Linked DNA regions of Homo sapiens: region 2 is linked to region 1. Evidence: promoter capture Hi-C in 16 types of primary human blood cells and fetal thymus (Javierre and others, 2016). All regions are on one chromosome and are shown on one strand. The core of a region is centred on a gene start or on the middle of the fragment in contact, and the rest is flanking DNA. Distances in the headings are between cores, read along the strand shown.

Region 1 (6,534 bases), core at 2,091-4,590:
AGGATTGCTTGAGCTCAGGAGGTCAAGGCTACAGTGAACCATGATGGTACCACTAAATGAGACTCTGTCTCTACCAAAAAAAAAAAAAGTGTATATGAAATATATAAAATGAAATATGTTGCAATATATATTTTTTATAAAATATATTAAAAATATTTTATGGAATATATAAAAATATGTCAGCCCACAACTCTCCTTTGCTCAGAAACCCTTCCAATAGCTCCATCTTACTCAGGGTCAAAGCCAAGGTCCTGATACTGACCTGCACTTATTTCCTCTCTAGCTCACCTCCCACTCTCCTCTAGCACACGCTGCCCCTGCCACACCGGCTTCCGCGTTATTTCTCAACCATACTGACAGGTCTCTCCTCCAAGGCTTTGCATGGCTGTTCCCTCCGCCTGGAACACCCTTCTCCTAGATCCATGATTTCCTCCCTCACTTCCTTCAGGCCTTTGCCCAAATAACCCCCTTTTAGCTCTCCGAAATGTCCCAAATATTTGCCAAATATCCCCCTTTCAGCTCTTCCCCTGGCCATCCCTTTTAAAACTGAACCCCTCATTCTGTTTGTCCTCTTCTGACCTTATTTTTATTTTTTATTTTTTTGAGACAGAGTCTCACTCTGTTGCCCAGGCTAGAGTGCAGTGGCGCCATCTCGGCTCATTGCAACCTCTGCCTCCCGTGTTCAAGTGATTCTCCTACCTCAGCCTCCCGAGTAGCTGGGATTACAGGTGCCCGCCACCACGCCTGGCTAATTTTTGTATTTTCGGTAGAGACGGGGTTTCACTATGTTGACCAGGCTGGTCTCGAACTCCTGACCTCAGGTGATCCGCCTGCGTCGGCCTCCCAGAGTGCTATGATTACAGGCGTGAGCCACTGCTCCTGGCCAATACCTTATTATTAGTATTATTTTAAATCACCTGAGATGCTATATATTTGTTTAATTGTCTGCCGCTCTGTCTTCCACAAAAATATAAGCTTCCCGAGAGCACAGACTTTGTCTTCACTGCTGGTTCCTGGCACATAATAGATGCACAATGAATACTTGACTGACTAAATGCACAACTGAGTTACTGGGTGTGAGTAGATTATGTAGCCCAGTGCCTGGAGTGCGGAGAAGCTGCTCAGAAAAAGCAGAGTATCAGGCTTCCGCCCCCGGACGATGGCCAGGTCTCAGGGTATCATCCCCGCACACCTGATGCAGTGGGCGGCAGTGAGGACGAAGTTGCTAGCAATCAAAGTCCCGCCACACGTATGCCTCCACGTGTCGTTCTTGAGGTACTGGAGGGAGATCTGCAGGAGGGTGGGGAGGGCTGTGTGTCAGCCTGCAGGTCCCTGGGACCCTCACCCCGCCACCCTCTCTATCTGTACCTCCCAGCCCTACACAGGCTTACCTGCCAGGGCCAGCTGTGGGGCCGGGCATCCTCTCCTCCCACCACTCGGGCGGATAGGTTGGGCGGGAAGCTGGGCACCCCACAGCTGGAGGCTGGGGAGACAGGAGGCCAGAAGAACCAGTGAATAGGGCTGGTAGCCCACGGGGAAAGGGGTGGGAGGGTGGGCAGGTGGAAGAAGCACAGAGTTGGGGCTGGGCAGACACGGGGTTGATATTTTACTGTGTCACGGGGGTAAGCCACCCAGGTCTCTAGGCCTTGTTTTCCCTTTCTGTGAAATGTGAAGAATCACACTAATGCGGTGAGTTTGCCCTGAGAACTGAATTAGACAACACATAAAAAAGAAAGCGTTTGGCCGGGCACGGTGGCTCACACCTGTAATCCCAGCACTTTGGGTGGCCAAGGCGGGTGGATCGCTTGAGATCAGGGGTTTGACACCAGCCTGGCCAACATGGCGAAACCCTGTCTCTACTAAAAATACAGAAATTAGCCAGGCGTGGTGGTGCATGCCTGTAATCCCAGCCACTCAGGAGGCTGAGGCAGGAGAATCGCTTGAGCCTGGGAGATGGAGGTTGCAGTGAGCCGAGATCGTGCCATTGCACTCCATCCTGGGTGATAAGAGCAAAACTCCATCTCAAAAAACAAAACAAAACAAAACAAAACTGGCTGGCATGTGTGCGAGTGCCCGGTACACCTGTGTTCTTCTGTCTGTTTTTAGGCCCCTGCATCATGGTGTGTGTGTGAGAGAGCAGTAAATCCACTGTTATAGCTGGGAAGCTGTGTGGAGCGGTCAAGAACACGTGCTGTTCCGCGAGACAGACGTGGACTCAAATTCTGCCTCTTCCACTAACCTGCCATGTGATGTCAGGCAAGATACTAAGTCGCACGGAACCTCGATGTCCTCATCTGTAAAATGGGGCTATGAAAAGACCCTACCTCTTTTTCTTTCTTTTTCTTTTTTTTTTTTTTTTGAGACGGAGTTTCACTCTTGTTGCCCAGGCTGGAGTTTGATGGCGCGATCTCGGCTCACTGCAACCTCCTCCTGGGTTCAAGCAATTCTCCTGCCTCAGCCTTCTGAGTAGTTGGGATTACAGGTGCCCGCCACCACGCCTGGCTAATTTTTGTATTTTTAGTAGAAACGGGGTTTCATCTTGTTGGCCAGACTGGTCTCAAACTCCTGATCTCAAGTGATCCACCCACCTCGGCCTCCCAAAGTGCTGGGATTACAGGCGTGAGCCACCATGCCTGGCAATAGACCCTACCTCTTAAGGTTGTTTTGAGGATTAAATTGGCTCCTACATGTAAGGGGCCTAGCATAGCGTCTGGCACATAGTAAACACACAGGAAACAGGAGCTGCTATTATTACTGTTGTTGTTGTTAGCTGGAAGGACTCTTCATTAAGTGCTCTCCTTTGCCAAAAAAGTTAGTGAGATTTAGAGAGGTGAAATGACTTTTCCAGGTCCTGCAGAGAAGAAGTGGCATTTAAGCTAAGTCCCTGGGCTCCTAATCTGGGAAAACGCCACCAAAATGATGGAATGGAGAATCCTCAAGGGAGAGAGAATGCTGGGAAAGGCAGACCCCGATGGTCCCTGGGGTGAACCCAGGATGAGGCATCTCGTGTCCCTCCCCCTTGCGTGGTGCTTTCCACACCTCATTTCTAACTGGGGACACGTCAGATCATCTTCCCTGTTTTGCAGATGTGGAAACAGAGTTGGCAGGCAGGCTGTGGCTTGTCTGACACACAGCTGGTTGGTAGCATCTGAACCCACAGGGGACCCCAAAGTGTCTTACCTGGAGAGCAGAGGCCCCCCCACTCCCCATCCCGTCCTTGCCCTGGAGGCCAGCCCGAGCTCACAGCCTGCTAGCTGCAGCCCCACCCCACCGCTTACCACAGGCCAAGAGCGCAGCGAGGACAGTGATGCCCAACATGGTTAGGTGCTCAGGACTGGCTGACCATCGGGATGGGCTGGGGCACACTTATAGGCAGGAGCAGGTGAGTGCACCTGGTCAAGGCCAAACCGCCCCTTGGAGAGAAACCTGCTCTGATAAGGCCCTTTCCCTGACCTTGGGTGGTTACTGTTTAATTTGGGCAGGAGACAGGGCTTTCTTAGAAGTATGGATTTTCCAAATATCCTGAAACAGAAAATTCTGAGTTGCAGTGCTTTTTGGCATCCCCCACCCCACTCTGTTTGACGTGTGTGTTCATTCTCTCTCCCTACCTTATACTATTTATTTATTTATTTGGAGATGGAGTCTTGCTCTGTTGCCCAGGCTGAAATGCAGTGGCACAGTCTCAGCTCACTGCAACCTCCACCTCCCGGGCTCAAACGATTCTCGTGCCTTAGCCCCCTGTGTAGCTGGGACTACAGGCGCCTGCCACCACGCCAGGTTAATCTTTTGTATTTTATTTATTTTTTTGAGACAGGATCTTGCTCTGTCACCCAGGCTGGAGTCTCAGCTCACTACAACCTCCGCCTCCCGAGTTCAAGCGATTCTCCTGTCTCAGCCTCCCAAGTAGCTGGGACTACAGATGTGTGCCACCATTTTTTTTTTTTTTTTTTTTTTGTATTTTAGTAGAGACAGGGTTTCACCCTGTTGCCTAGGGTGGTCTTGAACTCCTGAGCTTAGGCAATCTGCCTACCTCAGCCTCCCAAAGTGCTAGGATTACAGGTGTGATTACAGGCCGTTACCTTATTCTTTTTAGTTATTTATTGGGCACCTACTGTGTGTCAGGCATTGCGCTCAATTCTTCTTGCATTATCTCACTTAATTCTTCCAACAACATGAAATAGACGCGGTTATCTGCTCTGAGGTGAGATGAGAAAGGACCAGGCGCAGTGGTGCATGCCTGTAGTCCCAGCTACTCCTGAGGCCAAGGTAGGAGGATCGCTTGAGCCCAGGAGTTCGAGGCTGCAGTGAGCCGTGATCGTGCCACACTGCATTCCAGCGCGGGTGACAGAACAAGACCTTGTCTCTAAAAAAATAAAATAAAAGTGAGGAAGCTGAGACTCAGCGGGTAAGTGACCATCTAGGGTCACACGGCTGGGCAGCAGCAGAGCCAGACTTTGAAGCCAAAGCTTCTAACACCAGCCTGGGGCTTCAAGCTGTGGAGACATGCTGCTCCTTCTCTGCCTTTCTAGTGCTATTGGATCGCTTCCTGGCTCTCTCTCTGTCTCATCTTTCTAATTGCCTGGGCTTGATGCACTCCTGCACCTGCCTCCAGGGCTGTGGTTGGAGGCAGGGATGCAGCAGGCTCTGGAAGGTGCTTAGTTGGCCAGATTCCTTCCTGGAGTCAGCTTAGTTGTAGGTCCTCAGTTTCCCCATCTCTAAAATGGGCAAAAGGACCAGATGGACTTTCAGGCTCCTTTCAGTTCTACAATTCTGTAACTTGAATGTCAAGGTCAGTGGCAGATCTGAGGGCCCAAAGCACTGAGTAGCAGAAATTCTACCAGAGCCTCCGGCATTCGGGGTTGGCCATCCCTTGGAACATGTGGTTTGATCCATTCGCCCCAAGGCCTGGCCTCAGCCTGGTTGGTTAGATTCTGTCTTTCGTTTCCCCTCTACTCATACTGAGCTCCCCTTGAAGGTCATTTTCTGAGCTGGGCCTACTGGCCACCTTAGGAATTCCTTCCTGATAGAAAAGTTCAGAGCACTACGCACCCCGCCATTCATAGCGGTGATCTGGGGGTGAAGGAGGATTCTAACTTACACTTTTTTTTTTTGAGAGTCTTGCTCTGTGGCCCAGGCTGGAGTGCAGTGGTGCGATCTCAGCTCACTGCAACCTCCACCCCTGGGTTCAAGCAATTCTGCTTCCTCAGCCTCGCGAGTAGCTGGGATTATAGATGTCCACCACCATGCCCGGCTAATTTTTGTATTTTTAGTGGAGACCGGATTTCACCATGTTGGCCAGGCTGGTTTGTTTATTTATTTATTTATTTTTTGAGATGGAGTTGGAGTCTCGCTCTGTCGCCCAGGCTGGAGTGCAGTGGTGCGATCTTGGCTCACTGCAACCTCTGCCTCCCAGGTTCAAGCAATTCTCCTACCTTACTTAGTCTCCTGAGTAGCCGGGACCAGTGCCACTGGCTAATTTTTGTTCCTTTTGTAGAGACGGGGTTTCACCACGTTGGCCAGGCTGGTCTCGAACTCCTGACCTCAAGTGATCCACTCACATAGGCCTCCCAAAGTGCTAGGATTACAGGTGTGAGCCACCATGCCTGGCCTCTAACTACACATTTTTATGCAGCTTAAATTCTTTTTTAAAACAAACATAGTTACCTTGGTAGTATAAAAATCAATAGGTTTAATTTTTTAAGAAAGATAAAAGTGGGAATGTGCACTGGGGGCTCTGCTCAGCTATGGTGACATCAAGGCCTCAGTCCTGGGGTGTCTGGGGACTTCAGCCTGCGGGGAATTTTCTGTTTCATTTTGGAGGTTGGTTGTGCATGATACAGGTTTATCAGTGGCTACTGGCCAGTCTGCTTCAGACCCAGGGCTTTTGGTTGCCAAGCCTTGCAAAGGGTCATTCTAGCCTGGAAACTGGGAACATAAGCAGAGATATGGCTTGAGCTAGGTGATAGGTCTTGGAAATTAGCAGGGTCTGAAGCGGGGAGACAGGACACCTGGTTTCCATCTCAGTGACAGAATGGATGACCCAGACCCTGAGCAACCTCTTTGAGCCTCAGTTTCTCTCATGTCCCTTGATCAACTTGGGAAAATGAATTAACTGGGCGTCTCCTTGTAGGAGCTCATCAATTTATACTCAGAGATACAGCAACTTGTTAGCACGCATCTCAGCTGTGTATACATGCCCATGGATTCACAAGTATACGTGGACAGGCGACGCACACACGCACATACACACACACGCACACACACATGCACACACACATGCACACACATGCACACATGCACACACGCACACAAACACATGGACACACACGCACACACACATGCACACAATGCACACACCCACGCGCACACATGCACACACAAACATACACACACATATGCACACATGCACACACGCACACACACACATGCACACACACGCTCCTCCACGTCCACAAATATGCACACACCAATGATATAATACATATAAAGCATTCGGTTATGTGTAGAGCCAAGCAGAGCCATGGGCCACCCATT
Region 2 (6,673 bases), core at 2,849-5,348, 130 kb after region 1:
GTTCTGACTTTTTAGGTGACTGACCTCTTCCTTTAGTTGTTGAACTTGCTCATCCTTTGCTAATATGTCTTTTTGCAAAGATGACACCATCCCTGTAAAAAAGAAGACTCGCAGAGGTCAAAGAGGCAGTGAGGATGACTGTCATCGCTGCCGCTGTCAACCAGTTTGTGACGAGCCTGGCACTGAGAAGGGAGGTGTCTCCAAGGATCCCAGGAGCTTGAATGGGGTTGAGACCAATATCCACTGCACATCATTTGTTCAAGGTCCCAGTGAGAAGGAGAGGTCAGTCAGTGCGTGTTGCTGGAGACAGGAAACATCTGTCGGGGTGCTGTGGGCATCGGCCCTGCCTGGGAACAAAGGCTCAGCAGAGAGAGGGACCAGGAGGGGCCACGACATGGGCCTGTGGCAGCAAGGGACGTGTTGATTCACACTCATCTGAGTTTGGAAACCGTCTCTAGCACTTACTAGCTCAGTCGTCTTTTTTCTTGAGACAGGGTCTTACTCTGTCACCCAGGCTGGAGTACAGTGGCACGATCATGGTTCACTACAGCCTCGACCTCCTGGACTCAGGCGATCCTCCTGCCTTGGCCTCCCAAGTAGCTAGGACTACAGGTACGTGCCACTATGCCTGGCTAATTTTTGTATTTTTTGTAGACATGGAGTTTTGCCCATGTTGCCCAGGCGGGTCTCAAACTCCCAGGCTGAAGCAATCCACCAGCCTCTGTCTCCCAAAGTGCTGGGATTACAGATGTGAGCCACAATGCCCAGCCTAGCTTAGTGGTCTGAAGAAGTTATTTAACCTCTCATTGTATCTACAGAGTTGTATAAAGAACATAGTAGAGTGGCTAACACATAGTGTTTATTCCCTGCCACCCACAAGTATATGTGGTAGCCAGCTTGCAAAATGGCCCCCATGATCCCTGCCTGTTAGAATACCTGGCCTCGTGTAGCCCCCTCCCACCTGAATAGGGCTGACGTGTGTAACTCATATGGCACTGTGGAAGTGGTGAATGTGACTTCCCAGGGTGAATCATCAAAGATGTTGTGGTTTCTTCTTTGCTCTCCTTGGATCACTCAGTCTGGGGAAAGCCAACCGCCATGTTGTGAGGACACTCAAGCAGCCCTAGGGAAGGACACACATGGTGAGGAACTGAGGCCTCCAGCCAACAGCCATGTGAGCGAGTCATTCCAGAAGGGGATCCTCGAGCCCTAGTCGGGCTTTAGATGACATGACAGCAGTAGCTCCTGCAACCTCGTGAGAGACCCTGAGCCAGACTAAGTCACTCCCAAGTTCCTGAACCACAGAAACCGGGTAAGATAAACATATTTGTTGCTTTTTTGGGATAACTTATGTGACAGCAGATAGTCAATATATTATTGTATTATCACATTGAGAAAAAGTGAGAAGAAGGGTGCATAATGCAGTGGTATTGGGTTATCTCATACGGTCCTTTTCTTAGAAAAACATTCATCCTAGTTTTATTGGTGGGTATCAATCAAGAATCAATCTTTATTGCACAATCAAGGATGTGTAATAAAGAACAACATGATTCAGAATTTCATTGTAAAAATGAGCTTCGTCCGGGGACACAGTTAAGTTCCTTAGAAACAGACTGCTCTCTCTGGGGCTTGCCTGCATGCTTTGTGAGGCGGGACCAGAGTGACCTTTTCTCTAGAATGAATTTGGCTTGAGTCTCTACCAGGTGCCCTGTGTAGTGCAAGGTTGCCCCATTCTGGATGGTGGGAAAGTGAGCTACTCTCAGGCCTACGTGGGCTTCGAGATGGTTCCCTCTGCTCCTCCTGGGTGGTTCCTTCCCTGCCCACATGCACGTGCTCATCACACCTGACTCTGCTGAAGACTTGAGGCGGACCCTCTGAGATCTCCGGGGTGCTCTCCGTGCAGCCCCCTCCCGCCTGGCACGCCACCCAGCAAACTCAAGCTGTGCTGGCTTCTCCACCTCCATCTCCTCAAGTCGGGCTGACCACTGGGCTCTGTCTGGCTTCCCCTCCCTGCTGTGGTCTGGAAACTCTCTCCAGCGCAAGCCAGCCGGGGGCAATCGTAGATTTCATCTTGTTTGTTTCCACTCCCTCCCAGATCATCGTCACATGCTTCTTGGGGCCAATAGATGGAAACCATTATTTCAGACATTTTTTTCTGTTTGTTTGGTTTTTGTTTGTTTGTTTGAGTTGTTTCAGGCAGGTGAGGAAATCCGCACCTTGTTCCTCCATCTGCCTCTCTTCCTGTGGAAGATGGGGTTTGTGATGTGTTGTGATGGCTTCTGTGAGCCTGGGTCACTGTGTGGCCACAATGACCAAAGCCCCTACTGACCCATGATGGGCTCAGGGTGGAAGCAGGAGCTGAACCTGTCTATTGTGAGCCACTGAGACTTGGGGGACTGTTTGTCACTGCAGCGTAACCCGGCCCAGTGCTTCTCGAGCTTAAGTGTGCACAAGCAGCAGCCGGGAGGCTTGTGAAAATGAAGATTCTGATCGGAAGGTCAGGAGTGGGGCCTGAAATTCCCAGTTTCTCACAAGGATCCAGGTGATGCTGATGCTGCTGGTCCAGGGACCACACTTGGGGCCGTGAGAGTGTAGCCCATCCCAGGCCATACCTGAGCCCAGGTCTGTCTGACTCCTTGATTAGAGGAGTGGTGTCTGAGACAGGCTTGTAGCGTGGATGGGGTGTGATGGACAGACGCTGGGGAGGAGGGCAGGGCCCAGCGAGATCCCCCTGGGATGCCTGGTGCCCAGAGCAGCCCTGCCCATAGGGCTCACAAGTATCCAAGAACATTCCATGTTAGGGAAGAACAGAGGTAGAAGCCTGGAGTGGGGAGGGGGACTGCAGAGTGAGGCAGAGGGAAAGCCACGGCCAGGCGGCCTGGGTCCTGCGGAGACAGCGATTGTGTCTGACTCAATGCTACGCTCTGCTTTCACAGCCACGGGCATGTTTCCTGCTGTGCAGGGGGGACTTTAGGAGCAATATGCCCAATCTGGACTCATTCCCTCTCCACCACCTGCTTTTCTCTCTTCCCCCTTTCTCTGTCCATGGCCCTATCATCTGCAGGTCTCGAGACATGCCATTCTCTGCCTTAAAAACCCTAACGTGTCCCATCACACTTAGAAGAAAACCTGAACCCCTCCCATGTAATGTGGCCCTGCCTCCCCCCTGACCCCACCAGGTCCCATAGCCCCTTGTTCCCTGACTCCAGCCACACTCGCCGGCAGTTGATCCAACACCGTGGCTTGGTCCAGCCTCGGGGCCTTTGCACCTGTGCTCTCTGCCCAGCATACCGTTCCCAGGGGCCTCCCGACAGCCCCTCCCACCTCCTCAGAGATATCCCTGCCCAGGCACTAAGCCAGGGATGTCCAATCTTTTGGCTTCCCTGAGCCACACTGGAAGAAGAAGAAGGGTCTTGGGCCACGCATAAAATACACTCACGCTAATAATAACTGATGAGCTAAAAAAAAAAATCGCTAAAAAAAAAAAATCTCATAATGTTTTAGGAAAGTTGAGGAATTTGTGTCGAGCCTCATTCAAAGCTGTCCTGGGCCATATGTGGCCCGCAGGTCGTGGGCTGGACAAGCTTGCACTAAGCTATTCTCCTTCACTTCACCCCCTGAGTGCTTCCCCACCACGGTGTCCAGCTTTATTTCCTCTGGAGCACTGATCTCTCTCTGGTATGGGCTTGTTCATTTATCTTTTTACTTCTTATTGTCTGTCATCCTCTCCCAAGTGTGAGCCCCATGAGCAGAGGGGCAGAGGGATCTTGACTGCTCAGGGCTCTCTCTCCCCAGTGCCTAGAACAGTGCCTGGCATCTAGCAGCTGCTCCATAAATGTGCTGAATGAATGAATGAATGAATGAATCCAGGCTAAGAAACAGCTGTGCCTGGCAAGGGTGGGCCATGAGTTGGCTGCCCCCTTGCCCACCCAAGTTCTTGAGTATCCAGCTACCTCTCAATTAGCAAAATGCTTTCGCTCCGGCCCAAGAGCACCAGTGTGAGATGGGTAAGAGGCTGGGTGCCTTAAACTGGCAACCCCATTTTAGCCACATTCTAGTTTGCATTCACAGCAAACTGGCTCATGGGACTGCCTGAGCTGCAGCTTGTCCTGTGTGTTCCCTGGTGAGGTCCATGCTCAGCAGGCCTTTTAGCTAACAGATAACATTTGCTCAAATATTTATCAAGGGCTCACTCCAAACCAGGCCCTATGCTAGGAACTGGATGGCACATAAACCTCTGAGGGTGAACTCAGATTCATGGACAGGAACTGCCTAAAGGGCTGCTGGGAAGAACTCTGAGGCTGCAGCCAAGTTCAGTAACAAAAAGTATGTGGTTGATTGGTGATGTCTGCTGTGGCCAAGAACAACGGGTGCGGGAGTGGCAGCTCCCAGGCCCGACTCCAAGGGCTCACCTGATGTGATAGCGTTGTCTCTCTTTAAGTTCTCGCCCTCATTCTTCAGGGATGTGATTTCTGAGTTCCGCTCTGACAGGGTCTGGCACAGCACCTTGCTGTAGCCTTTCTGTAGGGCACTGATCTGTGGGAGGAGGTGGCACAGTCAGAGGGGGGCTGGCCCACGTCTGGGAGACACACAGGTACTTCTCACAAGCTTGACAGAAAGATTCAGATTGAGTTTTGGCTGGGGTGTTGGGGAAACCAAGCTTTTTAGTTTTAACCAGTGGAAGGGACAGGGGAGGGCCTGTTCCTTCAAGGACCACCACTTCCTATGTCATCAAAACATGAACCTTATCTTTGTGCCCATAAAGGGGCCCAGGCCTGGCTGCCACTGGGGACACCTGGTTTCTTAATGTGCCTTCTGATGACCTTTGGACTCTCAGCCATAAACAGATCACCTGTTGGTTCCAGGTCGCCCAGTACTGACTGGATACAGAGCAAAGTTCAAGAGAGGGAAGCATGTTATAAAATTAATTCCCTCAAATGATAACAATAGGTTATATCTCACAGAACACTCTAGAACCTACAAAGCCCACTCACAGACACTACTCCTTCAACAGAGCCTCATGGCCTCTCCACAGAAGGCTCCTGGGAATGCTCCCGTATTAGTCTGTTTTCACGCTGTGATAAAGACATACCCGAGACTGGGAAGAAAAAGAGGTTTAGGCCGGGCGCAGTGGCTCACGCCTGTAATCCCAGCACTTTGGGAGGCTGAGGCGGGTGGATCATGAGGTCAGGAGATCAAGACCATCTTGGCTAACACGGTGAAACCCTGTCTCTACTAAAAATACAAAAAATTAGCTGGGTGTGGTGGCGGGCACCTGTAGTCCCAGCTACTCGGGAGGCTGAGGCAGGAGAATGGTGTGAACCCGGGAGGCAGAGCTTGCAGTGAGCCGAGATCGTGCCACTGCACTACAACCTGGGTGACAGAGTGAGACTCCGTCTCCAAAAAAAAAAAAAGAGAAAGAGGTTTAATTGGAATTACAGTTTCACTGGCTGGGGAGGCCTCAGAATCATGGCAGCGGCAAGAGAAAATGACGAAAAAGCAAAAGTGGAAACCCCTGATAAACCCATCAGATCTTGTGAGACTTATTCCCTGTAACTAGAACAGCATGAGAAAGACCAGCCCCCATGATTCAATTACCTCTCCCTGTGTCCCTCTCACAATGTGTGGGAACTCTGGGAGATACAATTCAAGTTGAGATTTGGTGGAGACACAGCCAAACCATATCATTCTGCCCCTGGCCCCTCCAAATCTCATGTCCTCACATTTCAAAACCAACCATGCCTTCCCAATAGTCCCCCAAAGTCTTAACTCATTTCAGCATTAACCCAAAAGTCAAAGTCTCATCTGAGACAAGGCAAGTCCTTCCCGCCTATGAGCCTGTAAAATCAAAAGCAAGCTAGTTACTTCCTAGGTACAATGGGGGTACAGGTATTGGGTAAATACAGCCATTCCAAATGGGAGAAATTGGCCAAAACAAAGGGGTTACAGGGCCCATGAAAGTCTGAAATCCAGCAGGGCAGTCAAACTTTAAAGCTCCAAAATGATCTTTTGACTCCAGGTCTCACATCCAGATTACGCTGATGCAAGAGGTAGGTTCCCATGGTCTTGGGCAGCTCCATCCCTGTGGCTTTGCAGGGTACAACCTCTCTCCCAGCTGCTTTCATGGGCTGGCGTTGAGTGTCTGCGGCTTTTCCAGGAGTACGATTCAAGCCATTGGTGGATCTACCATTCTGGGGTCTGGAGGACGGGGGCCCTCTTCTCACAGCTCCACTAGGCAATGCCCCAGTAGGGACTCTGTGTGGGGGCTCTGACCCCACATTTCCCTTCCACACTGCCCTAGCAAAGGTTCTCCATGAGGGCCCCGACCCCACAGCAAACTTCTGCATGGGCATCCAGGCATTTCCACACATCTTCTGAAATCTAAGCAGAGGTTCCCAAACCTCAATTCTTGACTTCTGTGCACCTGCAGGCTCAACACCATGTGGAAGCTGCAAAAGCTTGGGGCTTCCACCCTCTGAAGCCACAGCCCAAGCTCTATGTTGGCCCCTTTTAGCCATGGTTGGAGTGGGTGGGATATAGGGCACCAAGTCCCTAGGCTGCACACAGCATGGGGACCCCGGGCCTGGCCCACAAAACCACTTTTTCCTCCTGGGCCTCTGGGCCTGTGATGGGAGGGGCTGCTGTGAAGGTCTCTGACATGTCCTGGAGACAT

The links. Contacts are between HindIII fragments. The CHiCAGO score rates a contact against its expected background, and 5 or more counts as called.
Region 2: a contact is called between a fragment that was not itself captured here and the fragment with the promoter of CTRC in region 1, in 5 of 17 cell types (activated CD4 T cells, endothelial precursors, naive CD4 T cells and 2 more). The highest score is 10.2, in activated CD4 T cells.

Annotation. Positions count from the first base shown.
Region 1 is chr1:15,435,249-15,441,782 of GRCh38, reverse strand. CTRC (chymotrypsin C) reads right to left here and starts at 3,340. Exons shown (of 8, transcript NM_007272.3): 1 at 3,279-3,340; 2 at 1,392-1,483; 3 at 1,193-1,290. The coding sequence starts at 3,318. The HindIII fragment of the contact is 3,491 bases long and covers 978-4,468 here.
Region 2 is chr1:15,306,476-15,313,148 of GRCh38, reverse strand. It overlaps FHAD1 (forkhead associated phosphopeptide binding domain 1), which reads right to left. Exons shown (of 34, transcript NM_001391957.1): 7 at 4,413-4,536; 8 at 1-92. Among named protein-coding and RNA genes, the nearest start is that of FHAD1-AS1, 34 kb to the left of the region's middle. The HindIII fragment of the contact is 1,024 bases long and covers 3,587-4,610 here.